Regions from separate parts of the Homo sapiens genome. Here region 1 is linked to region 2. Evidence: promoter capture Hi-C in human tissues and cell types (Jung and others, 2019). All regions are on one chromosome and are shown on one strand. The core of a region is centred on a gene start or on the middle of the fragment in contact, and the rest is flanking DNA. Distances in the headings are between cores, read along the strand shown. Region 1 overlaps NKRF (NFKB repressing factor). Region 2 holds the start of SLC25A5 (solute carrier family 25 member 5).

Region 1 (4,290 bases), core at 1,310-3,809, 130 kb before region 2:
GCAGGCAGATCACGAGGTCAGGAGTTCAAGACCAACATGGCCAACATGGTGAAACCCTGTCTCTACTAAAAATACAAAAATTAGCCGGACATGATGGTGCACTCCTGTAATCCCAGCTACTTGGGAGGCTGAGACAGGAGAATCACTTGAACTGAGGAGGCAGAGGCTGCAGTGAGCCGAGATCATGCCATTGCACTCCAGCCTGGGCAATAGAGTGAGACTCAGTCTCAAAAAAAAAAATTAATTAAAACCCAACATGTTGATGAAGTTATCAGTGGTTGGGGTTATTATAACTATTTTTGAGACAGGTTCCTCTGTCACCCAGGCTGGAGTGCAGTGGTGTGATCACAGCTCACTGTAGCCTCAACTTCCTAGGCTCAAGTGATTTGAGTAGCTGGGATTACAGGTGTATGCCACCATGCCCAGCTTTTTTTTTTTTTTTTTCTTTGTAGAGACAGGGTCTTGCCATGTTGCCCAGGCTGATCTTGAATTCCTGGGCTTAAGTGATCCTCTTGCCTTGGTCTCCCAGAGTGTTAGGATTACAGGTGTGAGCCACTGCTCCCGGCCAGTGGTTGGGAATGTAGGTGCTTTTCTTGGTGGATTTTCTAAAATGCCTGGTGTTAAAGGTGTTACTTTAAAACACACTATTAAAAAATAGACTCTGGAGAAAGTGAATAATAAAAGCTTTACTGCCTTGGCTTACTTTAAATATGTGGCACCACTTCTTTATCTTTGGAAAGCTACTCTGGATTGTAGAAGCCTCGTGGTCTTACTAAACACTCTAGATTCGTATTTACATTGTTCTTTGAATAGTGAAGTGTTTGTTAGGTACTATACGGTCTTTTTCATTATTGTTCATACTGGCTGGGCTTCTTCAGTATTATGACTTCATAGCAAAGGACAGAGAACTGTATCAGCAACCTATGTAAAGACTTATTTTTATGGCCTATGGGTGAAGTTGAATTTTGTGGCAGATGTAATGAATAGGGTATAGTAAGTAGGTAGAATAATTACTAATGCTGGAAGAAACCTGAGAAAAGTGAGCATGAATGAGTGAGCCCTAAGTGCATCACACCGTAAGACATATATGCCATTTGCAGTTGTATACTGTACTTGGAATCGGGCTCTAACTGAAGGTCTGGAGAATATTGACTGGAATTCAAGGTAAGTTGCCTGGTTGTAGGGCCACTTTTGGTAACAGGCGTGGGATTAGTAGTTTAAGATTTATAGACTCATCTCATTTTCATAGACTTTTTTTTTTTTTTTTTTTTTTTTTGAGATGGAGTTTCACTCTTGTTGCCCAGGCTGGAAGGCAATGGTGCGATCTCGGCTCACTAAAACCTCTGCCTCCCAGGTTCAAGCGATTCTCCTGTCTCAGCCTCCCAAGTAGCTGGGATTACAGGCATGCGCCATCACACCCGGCTAATTTTTGTATTTTTAGTAGAGACAGGTTTCTCTATGTTGGTCAGGCTGGTCTCGAATTCCCGACCTCAGGTGATCTGCCTGCCTTGGCCTCCCAAAGTGTTGGGATTACAGGCGTGAGCCACACGCGCCCGGCTTTTGTTTTTATCTCATACTTTGGAAATATGTACTCCCAAATTTGAATGGAAGTGATATGTAGAATGTATTGTGTTTATTTTATTTTATTTTATTATTATTTTTGAGACAGAGTCTCGCTCTTGTCGTCCAGGCTGGAGTGCAGTGGTGCAATCTCAGCTCACTGCAACCTCCGCCTCCCGGGTTCAAGCAATTCTCCTGCCTCAGCCTCCTGAGTAGCTGGGATTACAGGCGCCTGCTACCACACCCAGCTAATTTTTGTATTTTTAGTAGAGACGGGGTTTTACCATGTTGGGTAAGCTGGTCTTGAACTCCTGACCTCAGGTGATCTGCCCACCTCAGCCTCCCAAAATGTTGGGATTACAGGTGTGAGCCACCCCGCCCAGCCATATTGTGTTTTAGACTGTGCTTTCTGATGTTCAGATAAGAGTCAATGAAAATAAAATTACTCTTGGTATTTAAATACTCGTGCTAGCTTTAGCAGCAACAGTTGTCAGTGGGAAGTACAGGTTACAACAGAGCTAGCTTCCAGCAGTCTGTCGGGGAGGCCACCGTGCCTTGACTTCTGCTTTGCGTGGAATGATACGTGATGGGTGTGCAACCTGTTCTACTGAAAATGGAAAATGTTACCCTCCTTCTGGTTCAGAACTGATTCATGTAAAGGTATGATAGTTACTCATTTTCAGAACTTCTTCCCAAATGCTACCAGGAATCTCTTTTTTGGTCCTAGGCTGGGGAAGGCTCTGAAGGTAGGAAGGGAGAGCAGGTAACCGTCATAACCAACACTTCACTTGAGCTCCTGTTTCTGTTTCTCTGTAGTAAAATGTTATTCTATCAAGCAGCCAATCTTCATAAGGAGCCTTTTTTTTTTTTTTTTTTAAGAGACCGTCTCAGCCGGGTGCAGTTGCTCACACCTGTAATCCTAGCACTTTGGGAGGCTGAGGCAGGTGGATTACCTGAGGTCAGGAGTTCAAGGTCAGCCTGGCCAACATGGCAAAACCCTGTCTCTACTAAAAAATACAAAAATTAGCCAGGCGTGGTGGCGCATGCCTGTAATCCCAGCTACTTGGGAGGCTGAGGCAGGAGAAGTGCTTGAACCCGGGAGGTGGAGGTTGCAGTGAGCTGATATTGTGCCACTGCACTCCAGCCTGGGAGACAGAGCAAGACTCCCTCTCAAAAAAAAAAAAAAAAAAAAAAAAGAGACAGGGTCTCACTCTGTCACCCAGGCTGGAGTGCAGTGGTGTGATCACAGCTCACTGCAGCCTTGACCTTCCCAGCTCAAGTGATCCTCCCACCTCAGCCTCCCAAGTAGCTGGGACTACAGGCATGGGTCACCATGCCTGGCTACGTTTTCTGTTTGTTTGTTATTTTTATTTTTTGTAATGATGGTGTTTCGCCATGTTGCCCAGGCTGGTCTTGAATTCCTGGCTTCAAGTGATCTGCCCACCTCCACCTCTCAATGTGCTGGGATTACAGGCATGAACCACTGTGCTCAGCCAGGAGCCATTTTTTAAATTGTATATTTTAAAGCTTTGCCTTAAAATTTCAAGCACACAAAAGTAGAAAAGAGTTTAATGAATCCCATGTACCCATCACTCAGCAATCATCAGCAGTCTGCCATGCTACCCTTCTTCATCTATTCTGCCCTAGGTTTTTGTGGGCAATAGTCTGGAGTATATTTTATAAAATCCTGACATCATTTCACCTGTACATTCTTCAGTACACATCTGTATCAGATAAGAATTTTTAAAAATAGTCACCATACCATTATTCATATTCAACAAAATTTACAGTGATTTCTTAAAAATCACCCAATGCCTATTGCATGTTCAGTTTTCTTCATTTGTCTCAAATGTCTTTTTACAGCTCGTTTGATTCATTCATGATACAAAGTCTATACAATGTATTTGATTGATCCATCTCCTTTAACCTATAACCACTCCCTCTTCCTTTTATTTTCATTCTACAGTATTTATTTGATGAGGAAACTGGGCTGTCACATACTGTTCCCTCATTCTGGAGTTGGATAGTTCCATTCTTGTGGTGTTTCACATGTTTCTGGGAGTCAGGAACTTGATTAGTTTCAGGTTCAATTCTCTGGAGAGCCATAACGCTTTCTAGATAGTGCCGTGATATCCTATTGTATCACATCGTGGGGTACATGTTCGGTTGTCCCACTTTTAGTGATATTAAGATGATAAAGTCCCCGATCAGCTTTTTAAACTGAAATTTTTCTTGAGATAATTATAGATTGACATGCAACTGTAAGAAATAATACAAAGAGATGGCCGGGTGCGGTGGCTCATGCCTGTAATCCCAGCACTTTGGAAGGCTGAGGCCTGCGGAGAGGTCAGGAATTTGACACCAGCCTGGTCAACATGATGACCTTGTCTTACTAAAAATACAAAAATTAGCCCCGCATGGTGGTGCATGCTTATAGTCCCAGCTACTTGGGAGACTGAGGCAGGAGAATCACTTGAATCCAGGAGGCGGAGGTTGCGGTGAGCCGAGATCGCGCCATTGCATTCCAGCATGGGTGACAGAGTGAGACTGTTTAAAAAAAAAAAAAAAGTTCCTTTTTGTCCCAAGTAGTGTTCCATAGTGTGTGTGTACCAGAATCTAACTATTCACCTGTTGAAGGACATCTGGGCTGATTGTAGTTTTGGGCTGTTACAAATAAAGCTGCTATGAACATTCGTGTACAGGTTTTTGTGTGAACATAAGTTCTCATTT
Region 2 (4,015 bases), core at 1-2,500:
ATCTGCAGTGATCTGCTTGCTGGCATGCTGCACCTAACAGACAGGAAGGAAGCCAACAGGGACAGTTATAACCATGGGGAAGGGAAAGAGAAGAGCTTATGCCATCTCGATCAATGCCCTTTAAGGTAGGCTCCCCTCTCTCAAATCTAGTCTTCGTATATCATACTGGCTGGACCCTCCCAACCCTCTGAGGCTGTCACAGGGGAAGAGGTGATCTGCACCAGTAGCATTAAGCCTCCACCCCTCTGAGTGGAGAGGGGGCATCCTCCAGCGGACCCGTGACCTTCAGACCTAGGAGAAAGGTCATTACCTCAAACCCAGGTTCAGAGGCATTAGGGCGAGTCCCACATAGGGCGCGGTCACCTTGGGGACCGCAGCCTACGCCTCAAGTCTCCTGAGCTGCTTCCGTCTCGCTCCGCCCCCACTCCGCTCCCAGAGGTGACCCGAGCGCCGCCGCCGCCAGCCCTACACGCTAGCCCAGGAGCGCCCTCTAGAGCCGGCACTGGAGAGCGCGCGGCGCAGGGAGGCAGGCGGAGACGCGGCGGCAGCGGCCGCGGCTGCGCGGGGGCGGACGTAAAAGGCACACGCGCTTCCCGGCGCCGGCTTCCGGCCCGGCGAGGTTTGAGCGCGTCCGCGGGCTGGGAGGCCGCTGGACCCGGGCGCATGGCCTCCCCCGGGCAGTTATCTCCTTGCCGCGACCTTGAGGTCTTCGGTAAGAACTGGCGTTCCTCTTTCTAACGCCGGCTTTCGGCCTTCGCCCTTGACGCCCAGGCCCGGGGAGGCCGTCACTCAGAAACTGCTCCATCCGAGTCCGCCGCCTCGGAGATGCCGAGAGCCTGGTCCTGCCCTCTGCCCCCGGCCCCTTCCTAGACTCACTACTTCAGGTCACTAAAGGCGCCTCCCACCAGTTTGACTTCTGTTCTGCCTCTGCGCCCCGCTCTGGCCTCTCCTAAGCCGCTTCCCTGGCCATGTCTTTAGAGTTCGCTCCCCGCCACCCCTCGGGCGCCCGCCTTCTGTGCGACCCTTCCCCCCACTTCCTGGTTGGGCTCCTGGATCCCAGGACGTACCTGCAGCAGCAGCTTGACCCGCTCGATGGGCGCTACCGCCGTCTTGGAGATGGCTGCGGCCACTCCACCTGCCAGGAAGTCCTTGGCGAAGGACACAGCGGCATCTGTCATGTTGAAAGAGGAGGCAGACTGCTGCAGGACGGGACTGGGCCGGGAACCGGCTTTGACTCCGGCGCTGCGGGGCGGAGCGAAGCAAATGGCCGATTTATATAGGGGGAGCCGGAGCTGGAGCGGCAGGCGTCGGAGGCGGGGCCGGGGCGGGGTCTGGGCCCCGGCGCGCTGGGCGGCAGAGCCGCTGAGTGGCCCAGCTCGCAGGAGGAGGAGTCGTGGAGGGCGGGCCGGGACTGCTCTCCGCGCCGCCCGTGCTCGCCCTCGGCACCTGACCCGGCGAGAGGAAGGGGCGGGTCCAGAGAACACCCGGGACTTGAACGCTGGACCCTGAGAGAGGCCTCGGAGAGGGGAGGAAGGGTGAGGTCACGATGTGCCTGGACAAAAACCCTTGGAGCAGGACCAGGACTAGGGTGAGACGCATTTGCTACAGGGATGCCAAAAGAACCCTTCAGTCATCGAGATAAACAGTAGTCAATGCGATACTTTAAAAAAGTCGTATGGGCAAACTACATCCTACTGGCCGGCCCCCTTGTTTTGTAAATAAAGTTTAATTGGAGTGTCAAGGCTGGGTTTAGGGTGAGGCAAGCGAGACAAGGTCATGCAAGTGCAGGTTGGGATCCTGTCTGTATTTCAAATGTTGATCATTTGTTCATCATGGATTTTTGCATTGCTTCTGATTTTTTTAAAATAGTACATGAAAAATCATTTGTCTTAATTACTGAGTTGTTTTTCACCAAGGTGAATGCCTCACTCTTCCCACTCTAGACCGTGTGCTGTCCTGGAGCCAGTGAAACCAGACGAAATTAAGGGAACAGCAGACGAAGGAACTGCCACCGTGCCCCAGACCCTGGTTTGCAAATACAGTTCGACAAAGATCTTGCCAGGAATTGGCCTGGGAGAGTCCAAAGGACTGGGCTGGGGGTGGGGAAATGATTTTAGCCAGAAGACAAATATAGAGGTTGTACCCAGAAGGTTAAGAGGCTTAGGAAGGTTAAGAACTACGTTAACATTTGGCTCCCAGGACCCCAGGTAAAGTGCCCTTGGATTGAATAGATTTCTGAACTCCAGAAACATTTAGAGGAATCAATAGAATTAGATTGGCAGCCATTGTGCCAATGGACAAGTGCTTACTGAGCCCCTTAATCCCTTCACTGGGTAAGCATTTGCCACACATGTCCTCAAAAACCTACTTGTTAGCTTAAGTGGACTCCCTCAAGTTCAGAACAGGAGCAAATAGTGTAATCACAAGTTCCGTGTCTGAATAATCATAACAATGTTTATAAAAATAAGGACGACTGTTGAAAACTGCAACTGCAGCTGAACCTTATGTGCCCAGACTTCAGAATTCCCATAGGCAAAATGCCAGCAGGCCTTTGCACACTGAACACATAGTGTTCATATCCTTCACTTTCCTTTCCTGCCCTCTCCTATCTTCTCCAGATCTGCCTGTGAAAGGACCCAATTCTAGGACCCCCCAGGATGGTTAGGCCCTTCCTCTGAAAGTACACTTTGCAATTTGTTAGTCTCCTCAAGAACCCCAGCGATCGAAACTGATGCACACAAATTGCATGTGTTCAAAGGAGCAATTTTGAATCTAGCTTTGTTGATCCTGGGAGAAATCTTTGACCTGTGTTAGTGAAAGGCTATGGTGTTTCTCAGCTGATTATAATAGCGAGGTAGCTGAATGCAAAAAAACAGTTTCAGAGAATGGTAGAGTATATCCTCCAAAGGTGATACTCGCTTCTCTATTCTGGTGAGAGAAACAAGAGCTAAAGCAAAATTCTACAGAGGGCTTTATTTGGAGAGAGGTGGATTTTATTTATAATGCATTTAAAATTCAAAATCTTTCTAGTTTGAACTCTTGACATTCTGATTAATGCATTTTTATTCAACTGTTAATTATTCCTCGATACACCTCGCCATCACTTGTGTATCCCTTTTCTACATGTGACCTTTCCCTGGCCACATCTGCTACTCTCTTTGAGCATGATGCCTCTACTGTATTCTATTCCAGAGCTCATTGTTTTGTCAGTTTTTTTTCTCTCCACAAAAAAAGATGATCAAATAATTACATAGAATTTTTCCCTTCTCAGTCTTTGGGTAACTAAGTGTGGTTTTATTGACGATGAAATACAAGATGGGTCATTTAAAAGCAACTTCTTGTCATCACTTGGTATTTTGCTAAATCCACGGTGAGCTGGAGCTCCCGTAGTCACCTATCACCGCGTGTATTTTAAGGAGTCAGATATTCTCGAAACTGTTAAGATCATGAAAGACAAAGAGACTAAGGAACTGTCACAGATTAAAGGAGACTAAAGATACTTGACAACTGAATGTAATATATGACACTCAACCGGCTCCTGTACCAGAAAAAGGACATTGGTTATATTGGTGAGGTTTGAATATCTGTAGATTACCAATACTATTCTTGGTTATGGTGGTTATGTAAGATTTAGAGAAGTTGAATAAAGGATATAAGGACATTTTTGTACTATTTTTGCAACATTTAAAAAAGTCTGAAAGTTTAAAAACTTTTTAAAAAAGAAGGAAAAAGAAACAAGGAGCAAGCATCCAGGAAAATAGAAAATAGAGTCTCATTCTGTCACCCAGGCTGGAGTGCAGCGGCACGATCATAGCTCACTGCAGCCTCAAACTCCTAGGCTCAAGTGATCCTCCCACCTTAGCCTTCCAAATTGCTGGGATTACAGGTATGAGCCACTGCACCCAGCCGAGAAGAATATTAATGATGATGATGATGATGATGATGATGATGTTGATAATGATATATGGCTGGTCAGTTAATCAAAACTAATTCCTCCATTGAGACATAGTGCTGT

What was found. Contacts are between HindIII fragments. The study calls those that stand out against the background at their distance.
Region 1: a fragment that was not itself captured here is called in contact with the fragment with the promoter of SLC25A5 in region 2 in 1 of the 25 tissues and cell types used here (pancreas).

The regions. Positions count from the first base shown.
Region 1 is chrX:119,595,454-119,599,743 of GRCh38, reverse strand. The region is part of intron 2 of NKRF (NFKB repressing factor); the gene reads left to right. Among named protein-coding and RNA genes, the nearest start is that of NKRF, 8.8 kb to the left of the region's middle. The HindIII fragment of the contact is 5,142 bases long and covers 1-4,290 here.
Region 2 is chrX:119,465,679-119,469,693 of GRCh38, reverse strand. SLC25A5 (solute carrier family 25 member 5) reads right to left here and starts at 1,250. Exons shown (of 4, transcript NM_001152.5): 1 at 1,068-1,250; 2 at 1-33. The coding sequence starts at 1,178. It overlaps SLC25A5-AS1 (SLC25A5 antisense RNA 1), which reads left to right and starts at 574. Exons shown (of 1, transcript NR_028443.1): 1 at 574-3,661. RefSeq lists silencers at 461-700, 1,191-1,570. The HindIII fragment of the contact is 17,197 bases long and covers 1-4,015 here.